2 separate regions of the Homo sapiens genome follow, and region 2 is linked to region 1. Evidence: promoter capture Hi-C in 16 types of primary human blood cells and fetal thymus (Javierre and others, 2016). All regions are on one chromosome and are shown on one strand. Each heading gives the region's core, a stretch centred on a gene start or on the middle of the fragment in contact. The rest is flanking DNA. Distances are from core to core; before and after follow the strand shown.

The links. Contacts are between HindIII fragments. The CHiCAGO score rates a contact against its expected background, and 5 or more counts as called.
Region 2: a contact is called between a fragment that was not itself captured here and the fragment with the promoter of NAA35 in region 1, in 1 of 17 cell types (fetal thymus). The highest score is 5.9, in fetal thymus.

The regions. Positions count from the first base shown.
Region 1 is chr9:85,937,889-85,945,233 of GRCh38, forward strand. It overlaps NAA35 (N-alpha-acetyltransferase 35, NatC auxiliary subunit), which reads left to right and starts at 3,258. Exons shown (of 23, transcript NM_024635.4): 1 at 3,258-3,385; 2 at 4,267-4,395. The coding sequence starts at 4,272. RefSeq lists a silencer at 3,162-3,841. The HindIII fragment of the contact is 5,629 bases long and covers 1-4,282 here.
Region 2 is chr9:114,586,448-114,593,053 of GRCh38, forward strand. ATP6V1G1 (ATPase H+ transporting V1 subunit G1) reads left to right here and starts at 1,322. Exons shown (of 3, transcript NM_004888.4): 1 at 1,322-1,473; 2 at 6,105-6,205. The coding sequence starts at 1,392. RefSeq lists enhancers at 1-600, 601-1,419, 1,058-1,137, 1,248-1,757. The HindIII fragment of the contact is 2,179 bases long and covers 3,115-5,293 here.

The DNA.
Region 1 (7,345 bases), core at 2,008-4,507:
ATACATAAATAAATATAGTAGGACGAACTAAACTGATATTTTGATATTATCCATATTTAATTTAAAAACTCACAAAAACAGTGCCATGTTTCTTTCTGCCACATGATACAGTAGGATATGTTAACTCTTTCTGCTTCCTTTTCTGAAAATATTTCTCTGAGCAGCCTGTAGGTCCTCCTTAATTTATTTTATGTAATGGTAAAACTGATGTAAAATCCACTTTGACTTGCAGCTCTGCTCTTATCAAACTCATGTGACACTGGGTTCCAGTGTCAGTACAATATGATGCCATTGAGCTAAAGTTCATCTCAACACAAGTGTTGAATCACGTAATAGTTAGGATTTTATCTACTAGCAACAACAAGATTTAGACTTGTAGGAATTAATTTCCATCTCTCCAAAAATGGCCATCTACTCTTATGTTGTTTGGGTAGATCATTATTTGTCAATCAGTTCCTTTGCATCCATTCATCACATAGTCTATGTCTAAAATGCCCGTTGCTTTTTCAACATTAGAACGAATATTGGATGTCATCAGAAGTTAAAGGTTTCTCAGGGAAAATGGTTTTTAAATCAGAGAGGTTAGGAGAAATCAAATATGGATTTCAAATAAATTATAGTTTTAGTAAATAAAATGGTTTCACTTGGCTGCCGTGTTCTGGTTATAAATGTGTATTTGAAATATATATGTGTGTATATTTGTGTATTTAAAATATATATGTGTATATTTGTGTTTGAGATATATATGTATATTTGAAATATATATAAGTTCTGAAGCAGTCTTATTTACAAAAAAAGAGTGTTTTTTCCTCTATCAGTTTTTGTCACAACCTATACATGATCCTGAACAACTCAGATGCAGTCAGCTCATCCTTTTCTAGATATCTCATGGTCCTGCAGAGATCATTAAACAGTTTTGGAAAACTAGCATATATGTTTCTACTTTATTGTAACTCTTTTCTACATTCTCATCCTCAAATGTATTTAGTGAGTACCTACTATAGGCCAACCACTTCCCTAAGTCCTGGCGACACAGCTTTGATCAAAACAGGCAAAACTTCTGCCTTTGGGAAATTATTCTGTAAGAGAGATATGCATTCTTAATTTTTAAAGTTTTTTGAGACAGTCTTGCTCTGTTGCCCAGGCTGGAGTGCAGTGGCATGATCTCGGCTCACTGCAACCTACACCTCCCAGGTTCAAGCGATTCTCTTGCCTCAGTCTCCTGAGTAGCTGGGAGTACAGGTGCACGCCATCACGCCCGGCTAATTTTTGTATTTTTAGTAGAGATGGGGTTTCGCCAAGTTGACCAGGCTGGTCTTGAACTCCTGACCTCATGTGATCCACCCGTCTCAGCCTCCCAGAGGACTGGGATTACAGGCGTGAGCCACCACGCCCGGCCATTTAAAAATTTTTTAAACCAATTTTTGTGAAGTTCGGTTTACAAACAATAAAATGTACACATTGTAAGTATATACTTCAGTGAAATTTTACAAATGTATTCACCCACACAGGCACTACCTTAATCGAAAACAGAATATTTACATCACTTCAAATCAAGCTCTATCCAACTTAGTCTCTTCTTGAGCCCTGAGCAGCCACTAATCTGTCTTCTGTCACTATAGATGTCTTTTAAGAGCCTGGGGTCTCACTTGGGGAATCATACTCTTGCATTTGATTTCTTACTCTGTCGCCCAGGTTGGAGTGCAATGGCACCATCTCGGGTCACAGCAACCTCTGCCTCCTGAGTTCAAGGGATTCCCCTGTCTCAGCCTCCCAAGTGGCTGGGATTACAGGCGCACGCCACCATGCCTGGCTAATTTTTTTGTATTTTTAGTAGAGACAGGATTTCACCATATTGGTCAGGCTAGTCTCCAACCCGACCTCTCCACTGCCAGCCTCCCAAAGTGTTGGGATTACACGCATGAGCTACCAGCTACCAAGCTCAGCCTGATTTCTTTTACTCAATATATTTTTGAAATTCATTCATGTTGTATGTCAAGTAGTTTATCCCTGTTTATTGATAATTACATTCATTACATTGTATGGATATGCCACAAATTGTTTTTATTCAACAGTTGATGGACATTTGGGTTGTCTGTAGTTTTTGATGATTAAAAACAAAGCTGGGCCAGGCACGGTGGCTCATACCTGTAATCCCAGCACTCTGGGAGGCTGAGGTGGGCAGATCACGAGGTCAGGAGTTTGAGATCAGCCTGACCAACATGGTGAAACCCCATCTCTACTAAAAATACAAAAAACAGCCTGGTGTGGGGGCAGGCGCCTGTAATCCCAGCTACTCGGGAGACTGAGGCACGAGAATTGCTTGAACCTGAAAGGCAGAGGTTGCAATGAGCCGAGATCAGGTCACTGCACTCTAGCAGGGGCGACAAGAGTGACACTCTGTCTCAAACAAAAACAAAAACAAAGCAAAACAAAGCTGGTATGAACATTAACGTACAAGCCTTTGTATGAATATGTTTTTGTTCCTAAGTAAATTCGTAGATTACTGGATCGAATGATAAGTATATGATTATAAGGAGAGATTGTTAAGTTTTCCAAAGTGGTTGTACCATTTTGCATTACCACCACCAACATAACAGAGGTCCAGTTGCTCTGCATCCTTGCCAACATTTGGTATTATCTTTTCCATCTTTTAATTTTGGGCCATCCTAAAGAACAGGTGGTGATAAAGATGTGCTTCTTACCTGCGCCCGTCTATTTATGTAACCCCATTTAAAAACTGATCATTTTATTAATAAATTAAAAAAATCTAAAACATATAAGAATCTGAAATTAAATGTCTGGCTTGACTTTGCAGATATTTTGAATCTATGTTTCCTCACGAAACTCCCAGGCGCTGTATAGGAAACATAAATCCGTTGTCAGGCAGCAGTAGCACGCTGTTGCTCTCGGAGCTTGGCTGCTCGTTCGTGCTCGCAACCACTAAGGTCTACGCAAACCTCCACGGTTTCCTTCCGCCTTCGCGTCACCTTTCTAAGAAATTCCCAGAGGGCAGCGCAGACGGGGCGGGCTCTGAGACTCCGGGCTCCGCCTCTTTCCGGGAACCGCCCACTACCCAGGACTCCGACAGAGGGTGAAAAAAGATAACTTCCGGTCTCGCGATCGTCTCTAATCTCGCGAGAAGAGAAGGCGGCCGCCATCGGCCGAACGGAGGCGGTGGCGAGGGAGGGGGTGTGGCCGGGGAGCGCGAAGTCCCCGGGAGTAAGGGAGAGGGGGCGGGGTCGCGCGTCCCGGGCATACGCATGCGTGCACGCTGCCGGTCGGGCTGGGCTGAGAGGGGAGGGGGCGGCGGCGGCCGAGGCGGCGTCGTTATTTCCGTGGTCCGGACAGTGCGTGGCGGCGCGGGTGACCACGGGAGAAGTAGGTAGGGACCGCCCCTGCGTAGCCATTGAAACCCTCTCGCTCGTGTGTCCGAGAGCCGCAGCCCCCCGCGCGTGTGGCAGATCCTGGGGACCCCAGGTCACCCTGCGGCCCCGGCCCTCCCGCTGCGCGTCAGGTAGGAGCGGCGGGCTCCCCAGTGCCCGCTGTCGGCCGAGGCCCCACTCTTGCCCGGTGTTGCCGAGGCGACGACCCGGCGCCGGACGTGCCCGCCCTCCCGCGCGGCGACAGCTCTGTCCTTGCTTATGCGCCCAGTGGGACCGGGGCTGGGCTGGGCTGACCCGGGCAGGGCGGAAGGGAAGCGTGTGCCCGCCTCAGGTGTGCCTCGGCCCTAGGCCCGGCCGGCGGGACCCTGCGGTGCCTGCCGGCTCCTCATTGCTCCCGGCGAGGTTCTGCCTGGGTCCGGGCCGGCTCTGGCCCGGGAGAGGTCCCAGCGAGCTCTGGCCAGATGAAGGGCTACCTTGATTGACTTCGGTAGCTGCCGCATGGGGTCCTGGGCTGCGAGAGGGGACCCTGAATAGTGCCTTGGTCTTTTGTGGCTATTATTGAAAGTTGGAAGCTCTGGAGTTGTTCTTTTCGGGCCAGAGGTGAGATGGTTTGTGATTTTTCTTCTTAAACAGTAGGAAGGCAAAATGTTTATGGGCCCTGGTAGGTGGTGGGCTAATAGTAAGCAGCAGGAGTGTTAATTGACGTGCGATTTGATTGCATTAAGGTTATTCTTTGCAGTACTGTCCTTAGACTCAGAAGAGTTCTGCTTTAAAGAGTTTAGTTAAGACTTCATCCTATGCTGAAACAAACACCCATTTCTGCAAATACTCTTGCCCTGAAAGCTACATCCTCTCTCTTACATCAGTATTAATTTTACAGGCATAATGGTTATGAAAGCTTCTGTAGATGATGACGATTCAGGATGGGAGCTCAGTATGCCAGAAAAAATGGAGAAAAGCAATACAAACTGGGTGGACATTACCCAAGATTTTGAAGAAGCTTGTCGAGGTGAGTCTGATTTTTGGATTAGAAGTTCAGCATCTGGAAGGGGTAGAATGACGATTGTGCTTTCTAAACTTACCTCATTAGATGAAATCAACAGGTAAATGTGGTTTGTTGAGTTTGTTAGCCACACTTATTCTGTATCCTCTAATTTTAACTTTAAAGCAAATGTATATTTGATACAGCATTAAATACAGATGTTGAGGCAGTATTTTAAAATTGAATTTTTCTTGCTTTAACAGGTTAGAGAGAGCAGTAATTTCTAACTGTGGAAAACACTTTGTTAATCTAAAAGATAATAGTATTTTTGTATGTTTGAGGTTTCAGTATGATCAGATCACATCATTCCTTGTTTAAGATTGTCCAGTGGCTTCCTGTTGCAGGTAGAATAAAATCCACCCTCCTTCCCTATGGGTCTATAAAATCTGGTCCCTGCCTGCCACTCAGGTTTCATTTATGTGCCACTGTCCCCGCCAGGCTTATTACATTCCAGTCACAGGTCTTTTTTATCTCTTCGTAATACACACCAAGGTGGTTCTCCCAGGTGTTTGCATTTTTTGTTTTCTTTCTTTTAAATTGCTTTGCCCCTCGCTTTCACACAATTCTTCTTAAGTGTTAACCTCCCTGGTGAGGACCTCAAAACAACCACTCATTCTCTCCTCTGCAATTCCACCTCAGTTGAATCACTTTTTATTTTCTTCATACAGCTTATCTTTTTCAGAAGCCATAATTGTCAATTATTTCTTGTTTATTTTCAGTCTCACTCACTGGAATATAAGCTCCGTGGGGGCAGAGATAATTTCTGTAACCCTAGTATACAGAACAGTTCCTGGCACATAGTAAATTCAATAAATAGGAGTAAATGATTGGAGAAATGAACATGCTTGTTGCTTGAGGGGAAAGAGTCTAGGGAGAGACTGAAGATAAGAGAAAGGAACAAATTAACTAGAGTGAGAGCTTGAACGTTAAAGAGAGGATGAGATCAAGGAGATAGTAGAGAAATTGGGGAAAAGCACAGGGACACACTGAGACAGGAAGGACTGAAGTTAGGATGAAGATAAAAGTATATTTCTAAGTGACAGAGGAGGACTGGTGAAGGAATTCACTCCTGATGGCTTGTATTGTCTCAAGCAGCTTAGGTCTTTTGATGATAGGTAGGGTGTGTTTGGATAGTGCTCTGAAGGGGAGGAGTAAAGACTTGGGGCACCTGCAGGTGGAAAGGGAGCCAGCTGTGTATAAGCAAAATGATAAATCATGTGCCATCCTTTGTTTTGAAATCACTTTTTATAGCCTCAGTGAGACAGTGGAAAGGACGTAAGACTGGGAGTTGGGTGACTGCCTATGTATGTCTATCTAAGGAAGAGAGAAAGAAATGTCAAGTTACAGTGTAGTTTTTGTGCTCAGAGATCTTAGACTATTAAGTGGATTATACCTGTCATCTTGCACTGATTTTAAGTAATCTCTATTAGGGGGCTGTCATTATTAACCTAAATAGGGAAGGTTTTTGAAGGTTATATGGCTTGGGTTGGGCCTTAAGGAGAGATCAAGTTTTTGCAAAGGGAGGTGATAGAGTTATTCTAGACTGAGATGAACTATGTGAGTCAGAGTTTGGTGAGGTTTTTATGTTAGGGGAACAGTAAATAATTTTACTTGGCCACAAAACAATTTTAAATGCTGGGAATTATAGAGCGTCTTTAGTGCCATTGATGTTTTTTGTTTGTTTTTGTTTTTTTGGTTTGAGCTTGTTTTATAGGCAGTAGGAGTAATGGATTTGAGCATAAGATTGAAAGTTTGTTCCCCTTGATGATCAGTACAGTGGCTTGGACCAAGTAGCTTCTCAGTAAGTAATGTAGTAAGCTTTATAGTCAGATATGAGCTGGAGTCCTAACTCTGTCACTTACTAGTTTAGTTTCCTTGGAGTTTAATTAATCTGAATCTTAGTTTTCTACTCTGGAAAACAGAGCTTCTACTTTAGAGAATTTTGGGGATTAAATGAGATAGTGGATGTAAAGTACTCTATAGTAGCATTCAATGATGGTAACTGTTGTTACTCAAGGTATTTAATTTAGAGTTGAAAGCATATAAAGAAGTTTCTCTACCAGCATAATTTATGATGGATTAGGATGAAAAGAGTCTACTTAGACAAGGTTTTGCACTCAGCCCAGATTTGGGCGTTAAGGCCTTGGACTAGGCCTTGACAGAATGGACTAGAAGGGTAACATATGAGAACAAATAAGTTCATGTTGCTGGAGAGGTGAAAGAAACAAGAGAGATGATGTGTGCCTTAAACTTTTCCCTTGGTGACAGCAGAAGAGAGTGAACACGTACACTGCTTCTCACCCTTTCCTTCCCAGATCTTATGGGTGGAGTTCAAAGTACCTTGATTCATAGGTACAAGATATCTTGATAATTTCCTGTTTTATCTTAGAAATTCATGGAAAAGTTTGCATTTTACAACATGTTTGTTGTTTGAGGGGAACACTTATGTTTCATTTATGTTAAAGATCTTTTGCTTCCCACATCATCACATTAATTTGATATTAGGCAGCTGTACAAATTTTTATCCTGTGTCTTTGAATCCCCTGGGACATGATGTTCACCCAGGGTGGTTGCATACCACAGTTTGAAAACCACAGGTCGGCAGAATTTAGTCTCAATGAAATACGACTATAAAGGTCCTCTTAATTTTAGTCTTGCAGCTTTCTTTCATATATACATTCTCTACTTGTTTTTGATTGTAAGAAAAATTGAACCCAAGAAAGCAGTTTAGAATACTGGTGGGAGAGATGTTTTGGCTTGCCTTCGAGTTATATCATAAATTAGCCTTATTTCTTTGTGAAGGAACCTTGAGTGGGAGATAAAGTTTAATCCATGTTTCACTGTGGATAGAGAGGGGGTGACATGCCATTTTGTGGCCAACATACCATCCTATTAACTCTTCCATAATTAGCTCTTG
Region 2 (6,606 bases), core at 2,954-5,453, about 29 Mb after region 1:
GCGATTCTCCTACCTCAGCCTCCTGAGTAGCTGGGATTACAGGCGCGCGCCACCATGCCCGGATTTTTGTATTTTTAGTAGAGACCAGGTTTCACCACATTGGTCAGGCTGGTCTCAAATTCCTGATCTCGTGATCCGCCGGCCTCAGCCTCCCAAAGTGCTGGGATTATAGGCGTGAGCCACCGCGATTGGCCTATTTTAATTTTTTAATTTTAATTTTTTTGAGACAGTCTTGCTCTGTCGCCCTGGCTGCAGTGCAGCGTCACGATCTCGGCTCACTGCAGCCTCCGCCTCCCGGGTTCAAGCGATTCTCGTGCCTCAGCCTACTGAGTAGCTGCGATTACAGGCGCGCGCCACCACGCCCGGCTAATTTTTGTATTTTTAGTAAAGACGGGGTTTCACCACGTCGGCCAGGCTGGTCTCGAACTCCTCACCTGAAGTGATCCACCCGCCTCGGCCTCTCAAAGTGCTGGGATTACAGGCTCGTGAGCCACTGCGCCTGGCCTTCAGATCTTAAACACCACTTCCTTGGTACAGCATTCAGAGACACCTCCATATTCCTCTCCCCTTACTAAAGGTTCCTTCTTACGGCACCCTGCATTTTTCCTTCATGACTTTATCACAGTTTGTAATTGTCTATTTATTTTAATTAATCTGTCTGTGTCCATAAACTGTGAGCTCCGCCGGGACCTTGTTTGCCCTGCTCTCTGCTATGTCCTCAATATCAACAGTGGACTAGGATCACAGCAGGCTTTCATCAAATATTTATGGGAAACAGTCCAGTCCATTCCTGAACTCGGGTTCAGAAAAGGATAGCGACCTGTCCAAAATCACACAGGTTAGCGGCAGACTTGATCCCGAGTCTCCTAACTGGCAACCCAAGACTCTATCCCCGGAACTGGCAAGAATCTTCCTGAACTACCCCGATAAAATTTTGAGTGCCAAAGAAAGTCCCAGAAAGGGAGTGAGTAGAGCAGTGTGGAGAGTAGGAGGAAAGTGATTTGACTTGGCCCCTCCTCTCTTGACGTTGAGCATACTGCAAACAGACACTATACGTGGCAGGGCGGCTACAGAGTGAACCAGCGACAGGGTAGCCATTAAAAGAGGCCAGGGAGCGGACAGAGGAGTAGAGGGCAGTACTGCGCAGTAGACTGCACAGGCGCAGTCGAGGAGCTCCGCTCCTTTCTCCTCAGCCCCGCCCCGCCCCATTTCTGCCGAATCACAGAAGTTCAAGAGCGGTCAGCTGATGCTACGCTGTGCGGTCACGTGACAACGGGGGCGAAGCGCAGGCGCAAGGAGCAAGCGCAGATTGTGGGCGGCTGTGTCAGCTGACCCAAGGGGCCTTCGAGGTGCCTTAGGCCGCTTGCCTTGCTCTCAGAATCGCTGCCGCCATGGCTAGTCAGTCTCAGGGGATTCAGCAGCTGCTGCAGGCCGAGAAGCGGGCAGCCGAGAAGGTGTCCGAGGCCCGCAAAAGTGAGTTTCAGGGTGGGGCTGCCCGGCGTGGCGCGAGTCGAAGAAAGACCGCTGGGCCTCAGGTGGTGGGTAGATTAGGCCCGAAAAACTGCGGGGTGCGGGCGTGCGTATAGTCGCGGAAGGTTGTGTGTTTCGAAGCTTTGAGGAGCTGAGGCTCTGGAAGGCTTGCGGATCGCCTGGAAGCCACGATGTGAGATGGTAAATTGGGCGTGGAAACAATAATGGGTTACCGTCCTTGGGGCCTGGAGGCATGTGAAATGGGCTCTCCAAACGGAGCTCTTTGTTCTTCTTCTCTCCCACTTAACCGCTCTGGGGTGGTCAGTCTCGGTGAAGGGAGCCAGCATCCACACAGTTGCTTGGTCTAGAAACCTGGAGTCCTGCTTGCCTCTTCTCCCTCCCTCATTTAGTCAGTCGCCAAGGCTTGCGTATCTTTCACTTTTTCCCCCATGTCTACTACCAGCGTCTTAGTCCAGGACACCAGTTTCTCTAAAGGTACTGTAGTTGTCTAAATCGTTGGCGTGTGTGCGTGTGTGTGTTTCTGATATGTGGCAAGCGCAGTGTGTGTGTGTTTCTAACATGTGGCAAGCGCAGTGTGTGTGTGTGTGTGTGTGTGTGTGTGTTTCTGTCTAATATGTGGCAAGCGCAGTGCCCAGTGCATCAGTTGTCTCCCCTAACGTGGCATTCAGTGTCGCAGTGAAGGAAGCAGGTATTGGGTCAGTTAATTAATTGCAGGAGAGATGAGGGCTGGAGTGGAGAAATGTAAGGTTGCTAAAGAATTTAACAGGTGAGTTTAATCTAGACTGGGGAGTGGAAGAACCCGTTCTGGTCCCCTCCAGTCAATCCATTCTCCTCTCTGCAATCAGTCATCCTTCTAAAATGCAAATATGTGACTTCCTGCTGGTAAGGAACAAAATAAATAAATAAGTGCAGATATGATTTCCCTACCGCCTTTGTAGTCAGACGTTTAGTTCCTGCAGAAGAAAGCTCAAATTCCTTAATGAAGTTGGGGAGGCTCTTGTGGGTCAGGCCTGGTGCTTTCCTCCAGCTATACTGAATCGTTGTGGTCCCTCAGAAGCAGCATGATGTCTTTCACCTGCAGGTTTTTGCACACGCTGTTTCTTCTGACGTGAGAAGCCTTTTCCAATTCTCCTCCCCTTTGTTCTCTGACCCTTAGTCTTCCATCAGACCTCAATTTAGGAAACACTTCTTCCCGGGAAGCCTTTCCTGACTCATGCTTGTCCCCCGGACTAGGCTTGGAGTCCCTCCCAAGTGCTGATTTCTGCCACTGCCGTGCAATAACCTGTTTGTTTATATGGCTCAGTCACTAGACTAAGCTTCTGGAGAACAGAAACTATGTCTCATTTAACTTTATGTATCCAGTTTCCCGTCTGGTGAGAAAGATGCTTCTATCCCTATTTTACAGATAGTAAAAATGAGGCTCAGAGAGAAATGATTTATCCATACCCTGGGAAGCAACATAGTTGGGACTCAGAAGCCTCTTTTTCCATGCAAGGCGAAGATACTGATCTTAGTAATTCCTTGGTGTTTCTCCTAGTATAGGAGTTATTCTATCTGACATCCAACTAGATTTCAAGCATGTCTCCTCTACTTGTGCAGTTAGGGGTTGTGTGGTACTTGGAAAGCTTTCTTTGAGGGTGTTGGGAATGAGAAGAAGCCTTTTGTTCTTGCTCCGGTGACTGGAAAGTTCTTTGTTCTTCCCAGAATATTTCCAGTCATGCCCTTGATAGTGTATTTCCAGAATGACTTCTCACAGTTTGTGTTCTGATGGCTCATCAGTAACAGAAGTTGTATCTGTCGGGAGGGATAGGAGAATAGATTGGGGAAGTGCAGGAAAAAATGCTTGGAATAGGTAAGAATAATTCTGAGTGCCCTAGCCAGGTAGGATTTATGTTTTATACCTTTATCCTGTCAAGCCTGGTGCAGGGTTTTGTATATGTCAGGTAGCTGTGAATTGGTTTTAAAAAGTATTAATTTGGCTGGGCGTGGTGGCTCACGCCTGTAATCCCAGCACTTTGGGAGGCTGAGGTGGGTGGATCACCTGAGATCAAGAGTTTGAGACCAGCCTGGGCAATATGGAGAAACTCCGTGTCTACTAAAAATACAAAAGTTAGCTGGGCGTGGTGGTGTGCGCGTGTAGTCCCAGCTACTTGGGAGGCTGAGACAGGAGAAACGCTTGAACCCAGGAGGCAGAGGTTGCAGTGAGCGGAGATCTGTCCCACAGCACTCCAGCCTTGGGGACAGAGGGAGACGCCGTCTCAAAAAAAAAAAAAAACAAAAAACAAACCAAAGTATTAGTTTATGGCTTACATACTTCTCAGATTTTTTTTTTTTTTTTTGAGACAGAGTCTCACTCTGTCACTCAGGCTAGAGTGCAGTGGCACCATCTTGGCTCACTGCATCCTCCACCTCCAGAGTTCGAGATTTTGTGCCTCAGGCTCCCAAGTAGCTGGGATTACAGGTGCCTACCACCATGCCCATCTCTACTAAAAATACAAAAACATATAAATTAATACATAAATAAAAAAATAAATTTTTGTATTTTTAGTAGAGACAGTGTTTTACTATGTCGGCCGGGTTCTTCTCAAACTCTCGGCCTCCCAAAGTGCTGGGATTACAGATATGAGCGACTGCGCCTTGCCTGTCTCAGAATTGTTAATAGTTAGGAACAGAGAGGTAGTCAGAAGAACTGCAGTTTGAAAATTTGCCTTTCTTGATTTATAATTATGGTTGATTTGCCCAGTTAAGAGTTGGGAAGAGGCAGTATATAAAATGATCCCATCCAGTTTTTTTAATGAAATCATTGAGTTGGACCTTAAATTTTTTTTATTATTTTTTATTTTATTTTATATATTTTGTTTATTTATTTTTTTGAGATGGATTCTCGCTCTGTCGCCCCCAGGCAGGAGGGCAGTGGCGTGATCTCGGCTCACTACAATCTCTGCCTCCCAGGTTCAAGCGATTCTTCTGCCTCAGCCGCCCGAGTAGCTGGGACTACAGGTGCCTGCCACCATGCCCGGCTAGTTTTTGTGTTTTTAGTAGAGACAGGGTTTCACCATAGTGGCCAGGTTGGTCTCGAACTCCTGACCTTGTGATCTGCTCACCTTGGCCTCTCAAAGTGCTGGGATTACAGGCGTGAGCCAGCGCGCCCGGCGTGGACCTTAAAATTTTAAAAAAGTTTGTGTTAATGGCATATTTCATTGGAGTGAAACAAAACACTGGCTCCCATATGTAAGGCCCAAGAAGAACAAGATTTAAGAGAAATACGATTTTCTGTTTAAATATTTTTGATTTTTAGAGGCCCCTGTCAAAATTGAATGTTGAAGATGTTTGCCAAAGGCAGTAAATGGTATTATCCTGAGTTATAAATGCAGGGAGCCATGGGAGTTGGGAGGTGATGTCTTGTGAAATCATGCGGAGCTACTGCATAATGTTCAGGCCATGAGTGTTATTTATAGATTGTTGGTTTCGAAAGTATCTTTAGCTTTGAAATACAGCCCATTATAGCTGATGGGAAGATAGCATGTGAAGGATTGGGGTACAGGTGGCCGAAGCAGACAGTAGTAGGCCAGAAATAATACTGGAGTGAATGTGGACTTGCAGAAATAGTTCTTGGAGTTTTGAGAGAGAGACCTGTTAATTGTTTCAGACTAGCATCAGGGAATGTTGATGTCATGGGGTCATTTCATTACAGGTCCAAAGTTCTGTTCTGAATCAGGATGTGGAAGGTTAAGTTCATTTTCACTCATTCGCGTGGACTCTAGACAGTTGGTATACAATGATGTACAGTGTTGTATAACAAAGCTTAATTTTAGATGCAGGATGTCTTTTGCTCTCAAATAAATAGGTTGATGGTCTAGAACCTCTCTTTTTTTTTTTTTATTGGTGAGCGGAGACTCAAAGCAGAGATTATATGTTGGCTGTCCTTGTGGTCTGTTTTCATGTAGACTCTGACCAAACCTAGAGATTTTTTCCAGCTGTATGTTAAGCCACTCACTTCTAGAAACCAAAATACCTGTGTCTCCTCTTCTCTCAGCCACTTGTGCAGTCTTACTGTCCAGTACTCCTCATTCAGCATTCCTTCTCAGTCACCACTGTCCTTACTTCCTTGTGACAGGGACTGCTTTTAGTTTCCAGTGTTACATTATATAGTTGGTTCATTAGTTACATTATATGTTGCTGTCCCTTGCGAGCTTATTAGCCTTCTTGCTAAGCATCTGAGTAGGGTTGCACCTTTAATCAGCAGCATACTTAAGGTGTTTACTTCTGGAGAAGAGTTCCCTAGATGGTTAATGTTACTCATTTTATGTTGGTTCTTAATAGTTGAGATTGAGAGAATATTCTGACACATTCTACAATTTTTTTCCATCTTTTTAATGGGCTGTAGTTACAGAAGGTATTCATTTTTGTCTTGTCACTTCCTAGTTAAGTACAGCCTATAGGAGGGAGGAACCTGTACTGTTTGTTAGCTCTGAATTCCCTCTTTCCCATGCACATCTCTTCGGACTGTGTCATAATTTATTCTTGGCTTATTGTTATAATATACCATCTTGTCTCTGCTTGCTTTTCTACTTTTAACCACTTCCTGATATAGCTCTCTCCTTTGAAAACAGGAAAGAACCGGAGGCTGAAGCAGGCCAAAGAAGAAGCTCAGGCTGAAATTGAACAGTACCGCCTGCAGAGGGAGAAAGAATTCAAGGCCAAGGAAGCTGCGGTGGGGCACCATTTGTTTTTGTTACTGCTTTAGTTTCTGATCCCCTGTCCCGCCAAGGCTTTCAGAATATCCAGCATAGCTCAGAGATCCTGGTCGAAGTTTGAAAATGTGGTAGCTGTGTGTTTTATTGGCTGCTCAGGCATCTGTCTTTTAGGATGATCAGTTTTTCCATTCATATTGATTTCTAATTTTCATTTATTCACTCATTTAACACGTATCTGTTAAGCAGTTAACATGCGCCAGGTACTGTGCTAGATGCTAGGGATCAGTTGTGACCAGGAATAGACATGGTCCCTTCCCTCATGGAGTGTAGCTTACCATCCAGTGGTCAGGGAGACTCAGTAATACAGTGCAAATCATGCAGAGCTACTACTGAAAAATGCTGTGACGGTCATAAACAT